Linked DNA regions of Homo sapiens: region 2 is linked to region 1. Evidence: promoter capture Hi-C in 16 types of primary human blood cells and fetal thymus (Javierre and others, 2016). All regions are on one chromosome and are shown on one strand. Each heading gives the region's core, a stretch centred on a gene start or on the middle of the fragment in contact. The rest is flanking DNA. Distances are from core to core; before and after follow the strand shown. Region 1 holds the start of NUP210L (nucleoporin 210 like). Region 2 overlaps GATAD2B (GATA zinc finger domain containing 2B).

What was found. The method cuts DNA at HindIII sites, captures the fragments that hold promoters and counts their contacts. A CHiCAGO score of 5 or more calls a contact.
Region 2: a contact is called between a fragment that was not itself captured here and the fragment with the promoter of NUP210L in region 1, in 1 of 17 cell types (M1 macrophages). The highest score is 5.7, in M1 macrophages.

Annotation. Positions count from the first base shown.
Region 1 is chr1:154,152,623-154,157,847 of GRCh38, forward strand. It overlaps NUP210L (nucleoporin 210 like), which reads right to left and starts at 2,451. Exons shown (of 40, transcript NM_207308.3): 1 at 2,220-2,451; 2 at 114-250. The coding sequence starts at 2,422. It also overlaps a transcript of TPM3 not described here. RefSeq lists enhancers at 1,784-2,284, 2,285-2,785 and a silencer at 3,392-3,569. The HindIII fragment of the contact is 10,459 bases long and covers 1-5,225 here.
Region 2 is chr1:153,814,665-153,819,889 of GRCh38, forward strand. It overlaps GATAD2B (GATA zinc finger domain containing 2B), which reads right to left. Exons shown (of 11, transcript NM_020699.4): 3 at 4,942-5,071; 4 at 4,127-4,258; 5 at 3,376-3,507; 6 at 2,708-2,878; 7 at 1,609-1,924. Among named protein-coding and RNA genes, the nearest start is that of SLC27A3, 42 kb to the left of the region's middle. The HindIII fragment of the contact is 887 bases long and covers 2,544-3,430 here.

The DNA of each region.
Region 1 (5,225 bases), core at 1,201-3,700:
ATTCTCCCTTTGATCATTTGAAGCCAACACCATTTGTGTTAACTATCTATACAAAATACCAGATTATTCTACCCCAGAAGAAGTGATACATAGTGTTTTTGCTCTCAACATACCTATTTCTCGAGCAAGAATAATACTGCTGAGGCGTATCGGTTGCGTAGATTCAGCAATGAGTACAGCTTTTTGGGAACACAAGGTGCCATTTTCATATAAAGGCTCAACAGTAACTGCATCATGATGGGTGGAATGCCTGCCAGAACAAAATTCTTAAGAGTGTGAAATAGGTGGGTTAAAATTAACTTTTAGTGGAACATAGATTCTCACACTTCTTCCATGTTACATACTACCAGGTATATGTAAATGACACTTTTTAAAGAAGGAACATTGCTTAGGGATGCGATAATTAAACTGAGAGATTGATGAGAACTTTCCCAATGATCCCTTGAACAAAGTCCCAGAAATATCCCTCCCTCAATTTTTTTTAAAAGATTTTTATATTCTTCCCTCAGTATGCAGAAATACGACTGATGTGTTTCTAGTAATGAGAGGGGACTTTCTCATACTCTGAGGAAAGTTTCCTTCAATCCTAGAAACCAGGCTTCTGATATCTAGGATGGAAAAGGTGCCTAAATTATGAGGTGTGAGTCCAACTCAAAATACCAAAAACATTCATAAATATTTTTATTCTTATTTATTATTATGTTTTTGAGACCGAGTCACTTTGTTGCCCAAGCTGAAGTGCAGCAGGGCGATCTCAGCTCACTGCAACATTCGCCTCCAGGGTTCAAGCGATTCTCCTGCCTCAGCCTCTCGAGTAGCTGAGATTACAGGTGTCTGCCACTATGCCCGACTAATTTTTGTATTTTTAGTAGGGATGGGCTTTCATCATGTTGGCCAGGCTGGTCTTGAACTCCTGACTTCAAGTGATCTGCCTGCCCCGGCCTCCCAAAGTGCTGGGATTACAGGCGTGAGCCACTGCGCCCGGCCGAATGTTTTTATTTTAAATAGAGACGGGGTCTCACTATGTTGATCCGGCTGGTCTCAAACTCCTGGCCTCAAGTAATCCTCCTGCCTTGGCCTCCCAAAGTGCTGGGATTACAGGCGTGAGCCACCATGCCTGGCCTCATTAATATTTTTGGAGTGATAGAAGAAATGGCTTTCAATGCTGGAAAGATGCCTTGCATCACCCTCACGGTCAGGAAACACACACGTCACACTGGATCATCTTACAAGCTCACTTTCCTTATACTTCCTCATAAAATGAGAGGTGAATTTATACTCGGAACAAACCTCATTGCTTCTCCTAGGAGATGGCAAAGGGGTATCTACTCCATCTAGGATGAATGCACTGGCATCCTGAAGCTCACTTCGGTTAGGTTCTCTCATACCTTAGGCAACCACATAACCCATCATTGGGTCCTCTCACACCAGAAAATCATGTCTCTTCATCTTCAGTCAGGAAGTCATTATCCCGGAGTTGTGTGTACCCCCTGTCCTCACACTTCAAGCGGGTACCCTTTTATAAATGGGGCAATTTTGATAATACAGACAGATCTCATCTCCACCCACGATAAATCTTCTCATATTCCCAGAAGTTTACACTTCATAGTCTCTGGGCCTCACTTTCCTCGTCTGTGAAATGGGAGTAATAGTACTTACTTCATAAGACTGCAAAAAGCGAATGAGTTAACACATGTAAAGTGCTTAGTTAACCCCCAATACTTGGCTGTTGTGTTTTAAGTCCTTCTCACATTGAATAGCTCATCTATAGTTAGTGGGGACCCTCGCACCCCAAGTTTTCCTGTTCCTACAGAAATTTCCTCAGATATGGGGAACTTCCTCTTACTCTAGTTGTTTACATTGGAAGTCATCAGTACCTGTGGCCTCCAACACAGGGCTTCCCTTTACCCTGACGGCTGCTCATAGTGACCACCCCTTCCCAACACACACAGAGAAGAGGCCAGTCCCACATCCCGAGAATTCCTCACACGTCTGGAAGATTGTCACACAGCTGGAGGATATACCACATGAGTAGGACACGCCACACCCAAGGGTCTGCTCCTCGCCACCTTCACTGACACCACACTCTCCTCCCCTACCGGCTAGGCCCCTTCACGCGGCCCCACACGGTATTCCTGTGGGATCTTACAGAGGGAACCCCCCTCACCCTTACTGGATGGTAGTGAGGGTGCATATCCTTGTCACCCACCACCCCTCACCAAGTGTAGCAGCCCCGCTGGGCCTCCAGCAGGAAAGGCACCCGGCCTGGCTCTCGGCCGAAGGGTAGCAACACCTGTGGCACGTTAAGTTTGTTGGCCAGGGTCCCACGCAAAACCAGAAACAACAACAGGAGGCGGTGTAGACGCAAGAAGAAAAAGAGCCCGAAGCCTCGGCGTCTTGATGACGCCGGACAGCCAGTCATGGCGACTGCCAGGTCTCGGGTTCCCGCTCAACTACAGCCGGCTCACAGCTCCATCAGCCAATCCACAGGCGTGACGTCAGCAGAGGGGGATGGGACCTGCTTCTTGCTCGGATGTGTGGGCATTTTTAAATGCAGTCCTTCAGCAAGCCAATATAATGGAAACTTTTGGCACAAACCCAGCTAAAACACCTCAAACTCTCTTAAAGGGCTTTCCTAAATACTGGATGGCAGACCTTTTTAACAGTAAGGAACAAGCAGAAAAGTCTAAAAAAAACCCTTTAATTTCTTCCAGTTTTAATTTCTTCTGTTGCACACTGTTTATCTTAACACCACACCCTCCGCCCGACAAAAAAACTTTTTGCAATGATTTCCAGTTAGCATTGGTCCATGCCTATCAACGGAAAATTGTGCAGTCTCTGGGATAAACAGCTCGACTTTGTCAAGGGAACCGTGTATTTTTACTAGAAGTCAGATTCACGTCCGGCCTCCAGGCCAGAATGCAGGAAATGCCAGACACTGGCGTCTCAAAAGCAGCTTTCAAAGTTATCCACTCACACAGCCGGCCTCTAAGCAAATACTCTTGAGAGCACTTGTTGTTTTCTCCAAATATCCAAACAGAATATAAACTCAAAGCTGTTTCAGTACAGTTGGTTAAAACCACGCATTTATAGTAGTGATCAGCATTATATATTGTTTTAAGGAGCATAAATCCATAGTTTATAAGGATTGATATGGTTGTGAAGGAAAATGTATATAGTTCAGCCTGAGATGTCAGTGTTAACCTATAAAAGGCCCAGCACATTAAGTGTTCTTTCTAATCTTCATGTTTACTCTGACAATACTTATCTCCATTTTACAGATGATAAAACTAAACATTTGCTCTATATTAAATCCTGTTGCTCCAGCTGGGTGCGGTGGCTCACGCCCGTAATCCCAGCATTTTGGGAAGCTGAGGCAGGTGGATCACCTGAAGGTCAGGAGTTCGAGACCAGCCTGGCCAACATGGTGAAGCCCTGTCTCTACTTAAAATATAAAAAATTACCCGGGCATGGTGGCAGGTGCCTGTAATCCCAGCTACTCGGGAGGCTGAGGCAGGAGAATCTCTTGAACCAGGAGGCGGAGGTTGCAGTGAGCCGAGATCGAGCCATTACGCTCCAGCCCAGGCAACAAGAATGAAACTTCATCTCAAAAATAATAATAATAAAGAATAAATCCTGTTGCTACCACCCACAAAGATGCTATTTTTAACCCAAACCTCATAGCTTCTGTGGAGAAAGCACATTTAGTTTTAATAAATAAAAGTCAAATAGGTCTGAGGGTTGGAGGGACTGGTTCTTTATTTCAAAAAGACACTTGTCAATATTCAGTATCAAAACAGTTGCACTATTGATTTCTCTTTCTCCCAATCGGCCCCAAAGAGACCACATAAAAGGAGAGTACATTTTAAGCCAATAAGCTGCAGGATGTACACCTAACAGACCTCCTAGAAACCTTACCAGAAAATGGGGACTGGGTAGGGAAGGAAACTTAAAAGATCAACAAACTGCCAGCCCACGGACTGCAGAGGCTGTCACAGCCAGATGGGGTGGCCAGGGTGCCACAAACCCAAAGCAAAGTTTCAAAATAATATAAAATTTAAAAAGTTTTGTACATAAGCTATTCAAGATTTCTCCAGCACTGACTGATACAAAGCACAATTGAGATGGCACTTCTAGAGACAGCAGCTTCAAACCCAGAAAAGGGTAATGAGATGAGTTTCACATGGCTAAATCAGTGGCAAAAACACAGTCTTCTTTCTTTCTTTCTTTCAAGGAGGCAGGAAAGCAATTAAGTGGTCACCTCAACATAAGGGGGACATGATCCATTCTGTAAGCAGTTGTGAGGGGGTAGAGATGGGACAAAATTTTGGTCTCAGAGGTCTTACCATCTTAATTTGGTAACTTCTAATGAAAAAAATAAAAAATAGAAATAACATTATCCAAAGATATCTTAAAGCTGAAAACTTGAACAGCACATTTTTTGTTTTTGTTGTTGTTTGGCTAACTCCTCCTGGAATCACCTTTCTGGTTTAGCTAGTACTTTGTACAGAACAATGAGGTTTCCCACAGCGGAGTCTCCCTGGGCTCTGTTTGGCTCTCGGTAAGGCAGGCCTACACCTTTTCCTCTCCTCTATGGAGAGGGGAATATGCATTAAGGTGAAAAGTCACCTTCCAAAAGTGAGAAAGGGATTCGATTGCTGCTTCAGGACTGTGGAATTATTTGGAATGTTTTACAAATGGTTGCTACAAAACAACAAAAAAGGTAATTACAAAATGTGTACATCACAACATGCTTTTTAAAGACATTATGCATTGTGCTCACATTCCCTTAAATGTTGTTTCCAAAGGTGCTCAGCCTCTAGCCCAGCTGGATTCTCCGGGAAGAGGCAGAGACAGTTTGGCGAAAAAGACACAGGGAAGGAGGGGGTGGTGAAAGGAGAAAGCAGCCTTCCAGTTAAAGATCAGCCCTCAGTTAAAGGTCAGCTTCCCGCAGGCTGGCCTCAGGCGGAGTCTGGGTCAGAGGGAGGAGCAGCAGCAGGGTGGGACTGGGGCGTTCTACATCTCATTCAGGTCAAGCAGGGTCTGGTCCAGCATCCTTTGTGTACAGAGGTGCTCCTCTTTGGTGCATTTCAGTTTATCTAATGGGGGTAAAGGAGAGAAGTTACAAGAACTAGAAGTAAATTTCAAGGTCTACCCGCTCTTTGAGACTTGCTCCTGTTGCAGAGAAGCTGCAGACTGATAAAGCAGCTGCCTTCTCAGCCACA
Region 2 (5,225 bases), core at 1,737-4,236, 340 kb before region 1:
TTTGGAAGCTGAGACAAAAGAATTGCTTGCGCCGGGCACAGTGGCTCATGCCTGTAACCACAGCACTTTGGGAAGCCGAGGCAGGTGGATCACCTGAGGTCAGGAGTTCGAGACCAGCCTGACCAACATTGTGAAACCCCGTCTCTAAGAAAAACACAAAAATTGGCCAGGTGTGGTGGCAGGCACCTGTAATCCCAGCTACTCAGGAGGCTGAGGCAGGAATATTGCTTGAACCCAGGAGGTGGAGGTTGCAGTGAGCTGAGATCATGCCATTGCACTCTCTAGCCTGGGCAACAGAGCAAGATTCCATCTCAAAAAAAAAAAAAGAATTGCTTGAAACCAAGAGGCAGAGGTAGTCAGCCAGCTAAGATCATGCCACTGTACTCCAGCCTGGGTGACAGAGTAAGACTCTGTCTCAAAAAAAAAAAAAAAAAAAAAAAAAAAAAAACCAACAAAGAAAAAAACTGGCATGGTGGTGCATACCAGTGGTCCCAGTTACTCAGGAGGCTGAAATGGGAGGATGGCTTGAGCCTGGGAGGTCAAGGCTGCAGAGAGCTGAGATCACACCACTGCACTCAAGCCTGGACAACAGGGTCAGACCCTGTCTCAAAAAAACAAAAAAAAAAAACAAAAAAAAAAAAAAGAAAAGAGAAGTTCTATTTATCAAATTATGCAAGCATCATGCTAGCCACCATTTAAAAGAACTAAACAAAATACAGTCAGTCCTCAATGTTGTTGACAGGTTCTCAGAGACTATGATTTAAGTGAAACAACATACAACAAAAACAATCTTTTTTTTTTTACTAATGTTATAATAAAATGATGTTATTTGAGGACCCCCTTCACCGTAGTTGTTTCACTTAAAGTCACAGTTTCTAAGAAACTATTGATGATGTTAAGTGAGAACTTACTGTCCTACAAAAAACACACAAGATAGATAAAATCCAAATAAAAATATCAAGCCTCAATGATAGCTGACCTGCTGAAGGGAAAAAAAAACAAGCCGAAAGATAGATGATAGATTAGATAGAATAGAATAGATAGATTAGATAGATGATAGATTAGATAGATAGATAGATACATAGGCAGGCTGGCCCCGGCCGGCTGACGGGGTACAGTGGCTCATGCCTGTAATCCTAGCACTTTAGGAAGCCGAGGTGGGCAGATCACCTGATGTCAGGAGTTCGAGACCAGCCTGGCCAACATGATGAAACCCCGTCTCTACTAAAAATACAAAAATTAACCGGGTGTGGTGCCACGTGCCTGTAGTCCCAGCTACGTGGGAGGCTGAGGCAGGAGAATTGCTTGAACTCAGGAGGCAGAGGTTGCAGTGAACTGAGATTGTGCCACTGCACTCCAGCCTGGGCAACAGAGCGAGACTGCATCTCAAACAAAACACACACACACACACACACACACACACACACACACACACACTCCGCTTCTAACATGTTGCTCCCAAACAGCTGTAAAGAAGGGAGGGAGGTGGTTTGGTAACAGGAAGGAGAAGTTATTTAATATTGTACAGTACCCTCTGATACTCTGCCTATGTCAATCAGGCTTGGCAACCACTTGCTTAAATAGATTGATTAGAAGAAACAGCCTTACCTTGGCTGTCAATGACACTCTGTACGACTTCTTCCAAGCCTACCATGTAGATGAACTCGCTATTGGCTGCACTAGGCAAGAAATGAAGTAAGGGAGCAGGAGGTTTAGGGGGTGGGATCTCCAGGAGTGTCTTTTCCAGCTGTTTGCGAAGAGCCAATTTGGCTGCAGCCTGTGAGTTGGCAGCATCAGTCATGGCGCTGGGGCTAGGAAGTGGCGAGGACACTCTGTTCACCGTCCCTGGCTGGATATGAGAAGCAAGGTTCATATAGATGGCAGAGGATGTTGTACGCTGACATGGAACAGAAGAACTTGACTGCTGAAATAGATTGAGAATGCGGTCAATCATGGTATGCAGGAGAAAGGGCCAATTCTTACGTTCTTGGCAGAGGACACTGTCTGATCCTGGTTTGGACTACTTAGCTTCTCCAAAAATAGGAGGTGGTCAACTTATTTATTGAAAAAGAACTCTGACACATAGGAAAGGAGAATGATGATGACCATGAGCTAACATTGCTAAGAGAGAAATAAAGGCCACGCGTGGTGGCTCACGCCTATAATCTCAGCACTTTGGGAGGCCGAGGTAGGCAGATCACTTGAGGTGAGGAGTTTGAGACCAGCCTGGCCAACATGGTCAAACTCTGTCTCTACGAAAAATACACAAAATTAGCTGGAAATTCCTTGAACCCAGGAGGCAGAGGTTGCAGTGAGCCAAGATCATGCCACTGCACTCTAGCCTGGGCAACACAGTGAGATTCCAGCTCAAAAAACAAACAAACAAACAAACAAAAAAGAGACAGAAATAAGATTTTGCTTTCTGTCACACATCCTTGTGCTTCTTATTCCCTAGATCACTCTCTTCTAGGCAGATTTTTAGCTTACTGCTGCTCTGCTGTATAACCTCTCTCCTCCACTACTATTTTAATATAATTCCTCAAAGCTTCTACTTTTGGGACTGCTCTCAATTAAATCCCTACCAAAATAACCATTTTTGTCCTAGAGTTTATCTATGTATAAAAACTTAAAACCTATGGCCCTTTCGACAAGCAAAGCAAACAAAGGGATTTCTCTGTTTCCACATTAGGGCTCAGCTCTCTCTTACCGGTTGATAATTGATGGCGGGATTCATGTTGGGTGTTGTGGTGCGTACAAGGCCAGGCTTAGGCGGGCCCCGCTGACCCTGTAGCTGGGCTGGGTTTGGTGCAATAACACGTTGAGACATCAACATGTGTGGAAGGGTGGTATTGGTAGCTGAACGGATGACACTGTGACCCTGGAGGGGAAGAAGAGGAAAAGAACTAATCACAGGTTGTACGCTGTGTATAATACAGCACAAAATGCAAAAGGGAAAACACTGCCTATAATACATAGCTAAGTAGAAACACAGGAACACAGCCAGACTTGGTAATTTCATTTAATGGTCTATGGGATAAATCTACCATCATTGTAAACCCTGATTAGTGGCTGGGAAGTCCTTGGCTTTTTTTGGTATAAACTATCTAATCCTATAGGGTTAGATAGAAAACTATCTACCCCTTCTCTAGAGAAGCTGGAAGCATTCTCTAGACAAGAAAAACTACAGTGGAAACATGAAAGTTACTCATCCTTCTACTGAAGACTAAATCATGCCATAATGGGCCAACAGAACAATCAGTAGTAATAACACCTCTATCATGGCCAGGTTCTTCTATAATCTTCACAAAAGCCCAAAAACAGAGACAGGATTAGACACGGCCCTCCAACACTAAGATCCCACTATGGGTCACATACCTGTAATGTTCTCAAATTTTGAGGTTCAACCCCTTGGGCCCCAGGCCGAGAGGGAAGCTTAGATAGGCCCTGCTGTCCCACATGGGCAGGAGATGGCTGAACAATAGATGCTGCATTCTGTACAACTGGAGTCTGGGAGAGGGAAGAGAAAATAAGACTGTGGCCAATAATCACAGGTGGAAATTTGGTACATTTCTAGACTTTAAAAATTCCTGGTCAGTGTGAGGTTCTTGTCAATCAGGAGGAAAAACCAGAAAAAGGGAGTCAAGGTTTTCTTTTTTTTTTTTTTTTTTGAGACAGAGTCTTGCTCTGTCGCCCAGGCTGGAGTGCAGTGGCCTGATCTCGGCTCACTGCAAGCTCCACCTCCCGGGTTCACGCCATTCTCCTGCCTCAGCCTCCCGAGTAGCTGGGACTACAGGCGCCCGCCACCATGACCGGCTAATTTTTTGTATTTTTAGTAGAGATGGGGTTTCACCATGTTAGCCAGGATGCTCTCGATCTCCTGACCTCGTGATCCACCCGCCTCGGCCTCCCAAAGTGCTGGAGTTACAGGCGTGAGCCACCGCACCTGGCTGGGAGTCAAGGTTTTCTTAAGGCCTAAGATTAAAAAAAAAATCACTACTACTACAGACTAAAAAACTACGGACCCAGAGAAGAAATGAGCCACCCAACTGAACCTACCTGGGGGAACCTACTCTCAAACCAGTTTTTCTTTCCTTTCCCTTAGTCCCTTATTTCTAGGGCACATTACCTTCTGGACCACATTCTCTTTCTGTAGCTGACTCTGTCTCAGTTTCTTTAACAGGACCAGTCGGGCTTCTTCCAATCGTAGCTCATCCCTCAGCTGCTTGATAAGCTGCTGCCGCTCCTCAATGCCTTTCCCCTAAGGAAACAAGAAGACTTTCAGCTATGGCAGCAAGGTACCCAGAATTCCTTCCTGCAAGAGACAATCTTTACTTCTTAGCTCTGAAACCTTCATCTTCCACAAGAAGCAGAAGTGGCAATAGGATTATCTTTGTATCACTGGAGTCTGGCACAGTGCCTGGCATTCAGTAGGTACTCAAAGAAATGCTTACAGAATTAAAGGACAGACCACGTATAAATGCTAATCAGCCAGATTCCTGGCAAAAAGAAGAATGACTAAAGAGAAACATTGTCTTCTTTTAAAATAATGTTCCTAAATCTCTTAAAGCCACATTTCCTCTAGATATACATAAAAACTTAGGAATCCCTTCATATTCAGTTACTTAGGTTAGAGTGCAGAAAGTATCCTTACAGCCAAGAGTTTACTTTATATGACTTAATTATGAACTTTTGTTTTCATTTTCCAAAGATAAATAACACTGAGTATAATGGCCTACATATATGCTTTTCAAACTGTCGTCTCCACTTGCTTCTAATAGTTCCTTTTGAAAGCCCTTGAAGTCAAGAGTTACTATAAAGTTTTCATCAATGGGTATTTATATCCAAAGAGTAAATAGTCAAAAAACAGAACTAAATCTCTTGAGGAATTAAATAAAATAGAAGGAGCATAACAAGAAGAAAGAAATTTTTCTTTCTTTTTACCTTAAACATCTCTAAGTTGGCTGCTTTGAGTCTTTCTTCCATTCTGGAACTGGAACGGGGACTGGAAGCCTCATTGTCAGACAAAACAATGATGTCTGGTGAGGGAGTTAGCCTTCCTCGCTCTGGCTCACTAGACAAGAAAGGGAAAAAATAAGCTATTTCCAACAAAAGTTAAGAAAACTTCTATGCTGAATTAAAAAAATCCAAGGGGGGCCGGGTGCGGTGGCTCACTCCTGTAATCCTAGCACTTTGGGAGACCGAGGCGGGTGGAACACCTGGGGTCA